Regions from separate parts of the Homo sapiens genome. Here region 1 is linked to region 2. The links are contacts of gene promoters, found by promoter capture Hi-C in blood cells and fetal thymus (Javierre and others, 2016). All regions are on one chromosome and are shown on one strand. Each heading gives the region's core, a stretch centred on a gene start or on the middle of the fragment in contact. The rest is flanking DNA. Distances are from core to core; before and after follow the strand shown.

Region 1 (4,636 bases), core at 658-3,157, 990 kb before region 2:
GGTTGTAGTTTGTACCTTTATATATTATGTATAATTTTTCTTCCTTTTGTATTTGTTTGTGAGTGGAGTTATAAAGAGTAGTGAGGAGAGGTCATGACTTCCGAGCTGAAGATTTTTGGCAAGAAGACCCTTCCCAATGTGGCAGATTAAAAGAAAAATCTAATTTGTTATCCAACTTTTGCATGCGAGAACTGATTCCACATTGAAAAACAAAAACTCATGTTATTTGCTGATTGTAATATTGAGATAACCCTGATATATTGAGGTTAAAGACAAATGAGATTTTTTTTTTTCTGGTGACAATGAAGAAACCTATTATTAATCTCTTCAGTAAGAGAGAAAACTAAAAATCTCTACAGCTCTTTAAGACGGTGGGAGTTTACCGTGCTCAGTGGCTCATGCCTGTAATCCAAGCACTTTGGGAGGCTGAGGCGGGCAGATCATGAGGTCAAGAGATTGAGACCATCCTGTCCAACATGGTGAAACCCGTCTCTACTAAAAATACAAAAGTTAGCTGGGCTTGGTGGTGCGTGCCTATAGCCCCAGCTACTCAGGAGGCTGAGGCAGGAGAATTGCTTGAACCCAGGAGGCAGAGGTTGCAGTGAGCCAAGATTGCACCACTGCACTCCAGCCTGGCGACAGAGAAATAGTCTGACTCAAAAAAAAAAAAAAAGAAGGCCGGGTTTGGTGGTTCATGCCTGTAATCCCAGCACTTTGGGAGGCCGAGGCGGGTGGATCACCTGAGGTTGGGAGTTCGAGACCAGCCTGACCAACATGGAGAAACCCCGTCTGTACTAAAAATACAAAATTAGCCGGGCATGGTGGTGCATACCTGTAATCCTGGGTGCTCGGGAGGCTGAGGCAGGAGAAACGCTTGAACCCAGGAGGCGGAGGCTGTGGTGAGCTGAGATCGTACCATTGCACTCCAGCCTGGGCAACGAGAGCAAAACTCCGTCTCAAAAAAAAAAAAAAAAGAAGAAGAAGAAAAGAAAAAAACAAAAGAGGGAGGGAGTCTCCAAGCAAAGATTTTACCTAAAGCAAATGGAGTGTTTTTTAAAAATTTATGTGACTTTGCAGTTAAAATGTTATGTATACCAAGTTTCAGATTACTCTTAATGGTATATAAAGCTTGATTACAAGGCATATGTACTTGCTGCTAAGGCCCAAGAGAGCCACTGCAGTAAACCAAGTTTATTTTACTATTCACAGTCACCTAGATTGGTGGGTTTGCTAAATGCCTAAAATAACTTTCTACTGGGCTGGCATGTTTCTTAAAAACAAAATCTCAAAGATGGGCAAGATTCATTTAAAGGAGGAAGCCCTGACATGAAAAAAAAAATCCTTGCCTGCTTGACTTTTCCCTTTGCTTTGGAACCTTAAGAAACAGTTGGGTCACTTTAAACAAAATTTGCTCTGGGCCTAGAAAATTTCAATTACATGCTATTGGCCTATTAATGAGAATTTTATTAGTTTGCAAAGAAATAAGGAGCATCCAGTTCTTCTCACATAGAGTGGAAATAATTTCCTTTATGGTTCACATTTAGGACTCCATTGCTCTAATTTAAATATCTTTTACTGACATTACAGAACAGAAGGCTTTTGTGTGCATTATTCCAAACAGCTGATCTCAAATTTCTGTGGATACAGACAGCTAACAAAGCAGTTAAAGTCAACTATTCAATAACTCCTAGAGATCCGTAGGCTCAGTCACTCAGCAACATTTAACACGCTTGACGAGCACAGCATCTTAGATGTTGTCAGGGATAAAAAGTAATAAACTATGGTTCTTGCCTTCAAGGATTTTTCAGTTGGGTAACTATGAAAAACACATACATGAAGAACTAGACTTTTAAAATTATACTCAAACAACTACAAAGCAACCTAAAGGAAGTTTGTTTATAAATTCATGTTGACCTTACCCTCAGCATGTTAGTATGAATGAATTTTCAAATCATAGAGTTTAATTATTTTCAAGTTTAAATAAGGCATTCCACCTTCATCAGAAGGAAGGAATTATACTTACAAAACATACTTAAAAATTTTGAGGAAAATAGAGACCTTTAAGGGAATAACTTGATAGATAGAAAAACTTTTGCCTAGTAGAACAACCCTTCATCTATAAATCATCTTCAAAAATGAATAAGTGGCCATGATCTACACAACATAGCACAAACACCTTGCCATAGGATGCAGGAAGAACAGGCATCTGATCCAAGGCAAGTCCATGGATGGCCTGAGCAGTGGACCTTGAGGTGGTCAAACCCAGAGTTCTATCCAGCAAAGATGATGGTGATCAACTGAGCCTAGGAAATGCTCTCTCTCAGGAATTTGAATGTGAAACATAGTGAAAGTTAAAATGCTACTGATAAAAGTAGAGGCTGAAAAGAGATGCAGAGTCTATATTAAACTTGTTCTACCCAGATCTTCAAAGGCAGATAAGAGTAATATGTTGGATACTCCAATTATGAAATTCTGCCCCAAATCTCATTCCATTAAATAAACTGGAGAACTTTATATTTTATATGTGTGTTTTTTTCTTATTCCATCTCAAAATTAGGCACATGAAATAATATAATTAATGTTTAAACTCTTCTCTACAAATCTATATTCTTTTAATCTAAGTCTACAGGATATCAGAATTCTAAGAAAAACTTGGAAATCATGTTCAGGACTATACAGGACTTTAAAAGCTTTATCTTCCCAAACTGAAAACCAGACCTCTCAAGTCTAGCTGCTCTCCTCCAGGTGCTGCATAAATGGTGAGCTCTAGGCACTCATTGGCCTCTGTGATCTCCTCTTTGCACCTTCTTTTGTCCTACTAACTTTCATGCCAATCTTCCCATTTTTGTTCTCTTCTGTCTCTTGAAATGCTATGTTTGGCAGCATTTTTTTGGGCCGTGTTTCTATTTCTCCAGGACCTGGTCTTTGGCTACCTTACTTTGGATCACTTGGTTGAAACAGTTCCCTTAGTCAACTTGTCCACTGGACTTAAGCTGTGGGACACAGAAATTTTCCCTGGAAGAACAGAACAATGAAGATGAATAGTTGAAAAATGAGGTGAGCAGAAAAGTTATTTATTTATTTTAAGCTTATTCTGTTACTTTGTAGTTGTGTAAGCTAGGGTAATCTTCTAAAACTCTCAGAGCATCAGTTTAAAAAATTTAGGTTGGGGATAAGAATAATTCCTCATATGGGAAGTCAAATTGTCTCTCTTTGCAGATGACATGATTATATATTTAGAAAACCCCATCGTCTCAGCCCAAAATCTCCTTAAGCGGATAAACAACTTCAGCAAAGTCTCAGGATACAAAATTGATGTGCAAAAATCACAAACATTCCTATATATCAATAATAGACAGAGAGACAAATCATGAGTGAACTCCCATTCACAATTGCTACAAAGGGAATAAAATACCTAGGAATACAACTTACAAGGGATGTGAAGGGCCTCTTTAAGGAGAACTAGAAACCACTGCTCAAGAAAATACAAGACGACACAAACAAATGGAAAAATATTCCATGCTCATGGATTGGAAGAACCAATATTGTGAAAATGGCCATGCTGCGCAAAGTAATTTATAGATGCAATGCTATCCCCATTAAGCTACCATTGACTTTCTTCAGAGAATTAGAAAAACTACTTCAAATTTCATATAGAACAAAAAAAGTGCCCATGTAGCCAAGACAATCCTAAGCAAAAAGAGCAAAGCTGGAGGCATCATGCTACCTGACTTCAAACTATACTACAAGGCTATAGTAACCAAAACAGCATGGTACTGGTACCAAAACAGATATATAGACTAATGAAACAGAACAGAGGCCTCAATAATAACACTACACGTCTACAACCATCTGATCTTTGACAAACCTGACAAAAACAAGCAATGGGGAAAGGATTCCATATTTAATAAATGGTGTTGGGAAAACTGGCTAGCCACATGCAGAAAACTGAAACTGGAATCCTTCCATACACCTTATACAAAAATTAACTCAAGATGGATTAAAGACTTAAATGGAAGACCTAAAATCCTAAAAACCTTAGAAGACAACCTAGGCAATAACATTCAGGACATAGGCATGGGGAAAGACTTCATGATTAAAACACCAAAAGCAATGACAAAAAAAGCCAAAATTGACAAATGGGATCTAATTAAACTAAAGAGCTTCTGTACAGCAAAAGAAACTATCCTCAGAGTGAACAGGCAACCTACAGAATGGGAGAAAATTTTTGCACTCTATCCATCTTACAAAGGGCTAATATCCAGAATCTACAAAAAAGTTAAACAGATTTACAAGGAAAAAACAAACAAACAATCCCATCAAAAAGTGGGCGAAGGTTATGAACAGACACTTCTCAAAGGAAGACATTTATGCAGTCAGCAAACATATGAGAAAAAGCTTATCATCAGTGGTCATCCGAGAAATGCAAATCAAAACCACAATGAGATACCATCTCACACCAGTTACAATGGTGATCATTAAAAAGTCAGGAAACAACAGATGCTGGAGAGGATGTGGAGAAATAGGAACACTTTTACATTGTTGATGGGAGTGTAATTTAGTTCAACCATTGTGGAAGACACTGTGGCGATTCCTCAAGGATCTAGAACCAGAAATACCATTTGACCCAGCAATC
Region 2 (4,324 bases), core at 440-2,939:
TCCTTTATATTTTGGAGGAACTCCAAACTTGCAAGAGTAGAACAATGTCCTTACTTACTCTCTTGGGATATCTAAAATATCTTCAGTCCTATAAGATTCTTTTTTAAAATGAGGAATGATTCTTGTTCTGCTTATTTTTACATAACACCTTTATCATCAAACAAACTTCAAGATGTGTCATCTTTAGTAGGAAAACATATTTCCACCTCATCCTCCTGTTAGACTTCAGTCTACTTAAGCCTATTCTCAGTTTAATGGGATTAACAGAAGCAAATCACAATTTAAGACTATAGTTTACCAACCTTCCTTTCTCTTGTTCAGTGAAATTCCCCTGATAATCCATCAGTCAACCCCTGCTGGCCTTGAGAGGCGCTCTAGAAGGCAGGAGAAGGGCACACAGGCTCGCTTTTTGAACTGAAGAAGGGTTTCATTTGGTTTAGAATTGTCAAACTTCAAAAAATAAATAAATAACTTAAAGTGTTTTTCAAATCAGCCATAAGGCTACAAACCAGAAAGAAAAGTGTGAGGCAGGTGTTTGGGGCAGCTACCCAAGTTGCCTACATGGTTTCCAAGGTCCTTTCAACTCTAAGGTTTGTGTATCAGGCTGTCTACAGATCATACTGTCTCCATAAGATTGTCTAGTTCATTTTATGGCTAGTTTGAACAATCTGATTTTCTTTTTTACAATGGCAGGGGCTCAATCCATGTTAGGCTTCAATGTTGAGTCACCCAAGTTCTCCACAGAGAATAACCAACCAGCCGTAAGGAAGCTTCTTTTAGCAATGCCAGGATTCTGCAAAGTCCCTCCCAGCTTAACTTTTCTGACCTTGCGGCAGCAGAACAACAAAAAGAACAGCCCCTGGCACCCTCAGAAGAGCACAAAGCCCTCTGACAACCTGAGATGGCGCCCAGGTAGACTTCCCTCAAAAAAAAAAAAAATGGCAAGGCTGCTTCAGCAGGTCTTTCAGCCCCAACCACTCCACTCTCCGTCTCCTTTTCTTCACTGCTTTCCCCACCTCTCTTCCCCCCTTCCACTTTGACCCACCCCAATTTTCGTCCACTTCTCCCTCACCCCTTCCTTGTAATCTCTCTCCTTGAGGCATCCTGTGGATGTTGACTGTAATCTCCCCTGGAGGAGGGCTAAGAAATGCACCTCCAGAGGGTCTGTTTGCCATTGGAACCGCGTAGAGAAAGCGTGCAAACCCGTCAACTGCTCCCGCCGTTCCTCTCCCTCCTCAACCCAGGCTCGCTACAGAAGAAGGGAGTAGGGTCTGCCCCCTTGTTGTATCTATTTTCCCCTTCTCCGCCAGGGCTGTGGCCGGCAAGGGGCTCAGGAGGTGAGTCCCTTGCCCACACCTCCAACCCCGCTGGCCCGGTTTATAACATGGACAGCCCTGCCCTCTAGTGTCTGCAACCGGGAGCCCTAAGGCGCCATCAGCTCCAGAATTTCTCTTTTATAACCTAAGCAAGACCTGGAGTACCTCGGAGCTGCGACCTCCAGTTCACAATACCACCTGCCTCACACCCGGGCTCATCTTTTCATCCCACACCCACCACCCCCCTCTCCGTTCACGGTGTCCCGGGAGGCTGCGACCTGCGTAGATGATTTAGCAGACTGCCCCTGCCCATGCTCCTGCTCCTGCTCCTCCTCCTCCTCTTCCCCGCTCTCTCCCTCTCGCCTCCTCTTCCAGTCCAGGCGCCCAGACTCGGCGAAGCGCAGCGCCTGCCACCAGCGGTGCCTCGGGCTGCCCGGCGCGCCGCGCTCCCAGGTTCTGTCTCGCCGCACCCCGGCGGGCACTGGCGCGGGCAAGGACGCTGGCGGGGAGAACGCCCTGGGCTCAACGTACTCCAGAATCGAATGTTGAGAGAAGCAGTGCTCTGATCCAGCTCAGGAGAAAAAGGAGCGGGTTCCGAGTGAGACTTCTGGAGCCAGCTGGACGTGCCGGTTTGCCCAGTGCGGCGCGGCTGCACGCACCGTCCACAAGGTGAGGGGCGCACACCTTCCGGGACGACCTTGGCTTCCCTTCTTACCCCCACCCACTCCAGGTACTCCAGCTCTGGCTTGGGGATGTTTGCCAGCTTTGAGGCGCAAAGGCGGCGGGAGTTGGGATGCGGGGTGTCGGAGGGAGACTGAGGGTCGCCCGGGCACCGTGCCTGCACCCTGGATTATAGTACAGAGAGCATTTCTTGTTCAAACAATTCCTCAAATGTGTGAACCTGAGAATCAACATTGTGTATAACTGTGGTTTGAGCATTTCATCCTGCTTCCTTGCAAAAGGATTAGAGGCAGCTTAAAGATTAAATAGGTATGGAACGGGTGCTGGGGGGGGCCAGGGAAAACTTGAGTAGAAATCACAGGGAGGTGGTGTGCTCCAGGGACCCCGGAAGAACTGTGTGATTTCAAAGCCAGCTGATTAAAAAACCTTTGATTAGAAAGGACTGCACTGTTGCTCCAGCCCTCAGAAAATAATACTGTGCTCAGTCCTGATAAACAAAATGCCCAGGTGTGGAGGTAATGAGGCAGGCTCATTTTTTTTAAAATACAAAATAAATCTTGGAAGTAAGAGTTAAGATGAGAAGTTTGGTCTTAAGCCATCTCCACCCAATACTGCAAGGTGAGAGGCTGACCCCCTACCTAACGAAAAGGAAAGGAAATTGAGTCTAAAGGGAAGTGATTCCAGCTCCTATCACAGGATCATAGTGGTTTTGCATCTATATGTATATTTCTGCCTGTGCCCAGTTTTGGAAGAAAGGACCTTGTATTCAACCCAACGCTGCTTGTCCTTGAGTTAGAAGGATAAGGCAGATGGTGTCAGCATCCCAAGGTGTTTCTTCCTAACCTTTCTTATTGTCCTTCCTTGCCTCCTGCACCAAATCTCTTGGGGAGGGAGCAGCCCAGGAGGAAATAATAGATCGTCAAATGGGTTGGGGGAGCAGTGTTTTTTCCAAAATAATTTAGGCTCATTTTATCATTCTTATGTTTTCCCTCAAAGCTCTAAGCAGTACATCGTCCTAAGCTGAATTTAACATTGCTCCAGAATATATATTTATCATAGTTGTACATTCAGACACAATATGCATAACCTTAAACAGCCAGGATGCACTTGTGAATCAGGGGCTTCCCTTACTTAATCCTGCGCAAGAGAGGCAAAGCAGGCACGTGGGTCTGATTCCCTGTGCGGTCTCCTTCATGAGGAGCATATGTGAAATACCTTTGAAATACAGAGAAGATTGAGACAGCTTTTCTCTTTCTGGTACAGTTGCTTTCCTGCTGAATTAAATGAGATGACCCTGTCTTCAACAAATAAATGAATGGAGGCATTTGAGGCCCATTTAACAAATGCACAAAATATGCCTGCCTCTGTTTTTCCTCCCTTCAGAGCTTTAGCCTCCAGCCCACGGAGTTGTGATGATGAAGCCCACCTCCTAAGTGGGACTCAGCTCAGTTTCTGTATCATATTTAAAACAGAGTATGTTGCTTATTTCTAAAATTGCATAGCACCTCACCACTAACTATTTTGCTGCATAGAGGTATTTCATCACTAAGAGAGCTATATAGAGAAACTCACTCAAATCCTGATTCATCATTGTTGATAGAACTTAACTATTGTGTCATCATCACCTGACATGGGCTGCAGAAGCTCCAAGGATTGCTATAGATCTCAATTGAGACTTCTAGTAACAGAGCTAGAAAGGAGCCTTTTAAAGTGTAGCCATGACTCTGGTCATTAGGTATATGCATGTTCAAATATTCCCTTACGTGCTTGTTTTCGCTTTCATAACAATTTCCAGGGATGAAAACTTAGCAGATTATTTTTATAATGAAGAGTATTCAAATTAACAATGTGTATCCACCAGCTAACAAGTTTTAAATTCCACAGAAATCAGCATCACAAGCATAGTAAAATCAAGTTTTCATTCTTTCCTCTTCTGCCATAATGACTTCATTCAAGGCCTAGTCCCAGACCAAGTGCATGGAAACGATGGCTCATGTCTCTCAACATTTGCCCAAGGGAATGGTGCCTACCTTGCAACTCAGCGTGATGTCACCTTTATTAGCCATTCTGGTGTCTATACAAAATATTTGCTCCCCATTTCTTCTTATCGATGCCTGGTCAGCAACAATCATGTAAATAAGTTTCCATTCTTTTGAGGAAGATAACGAAGTCAGCGTTTTTCAGAAGTGGTGCCTAGGAAGAGACAAAATCCAGGACACACCTCTAGTTCAGGTAACACTGCAATATATTTCAATTTCCTGCTGCGTGATGGGGTTATTATTGAAGAGGGAAGTAAGGTATATCATTCACAGCACATTGTCCCCACC

Evidence for each region. Contacts are between HindIII fragments. The CHiCAGO score rates a contact against its expected background, and 5 or more counts as called.
Region 1: a contact is called between a fragment that was not itself captured here and the fragment with the promoter of HTR1E in region 2, in 2 of 17 cell types (endothelial precursors and erythroblasts). The highest score is 8.0, in endothelial precursors.

Annotation. Positions count from the first base shown.
Region 1 is chr6:85,947,036-85,951,671 of GRCh38, forward strand. LOC101928842 (a long non-coding RNA gene) reads left to right here. Exons shown (of 9, transcript XR_002956361.1): 5 at 2,623-2,759; 6 at 2,916-3,057. Among named protein-coding and RNA genes, the nearest start is that of SNHG5, 270 kb to the left of the region's middle. The HindIII fragment of the contact is 1,562 bases long and covers 1,127-2,688 here.
Region 2 is chr6:86,935,839-86,940,162 of GRCh38, forward strand. HTR1E (5-hydroxytryptamine receptor 1E) reads left to right here and starts at 1,690. Exons shown (of 2, transcript NM_000865.3): 1 at 1,690-1,985. RefSeq lists enhancers at 1,474-2,029, 2,030-2,584. The HindIII fragment of the contact is 4,175 bases long and covers 769-4,324 here.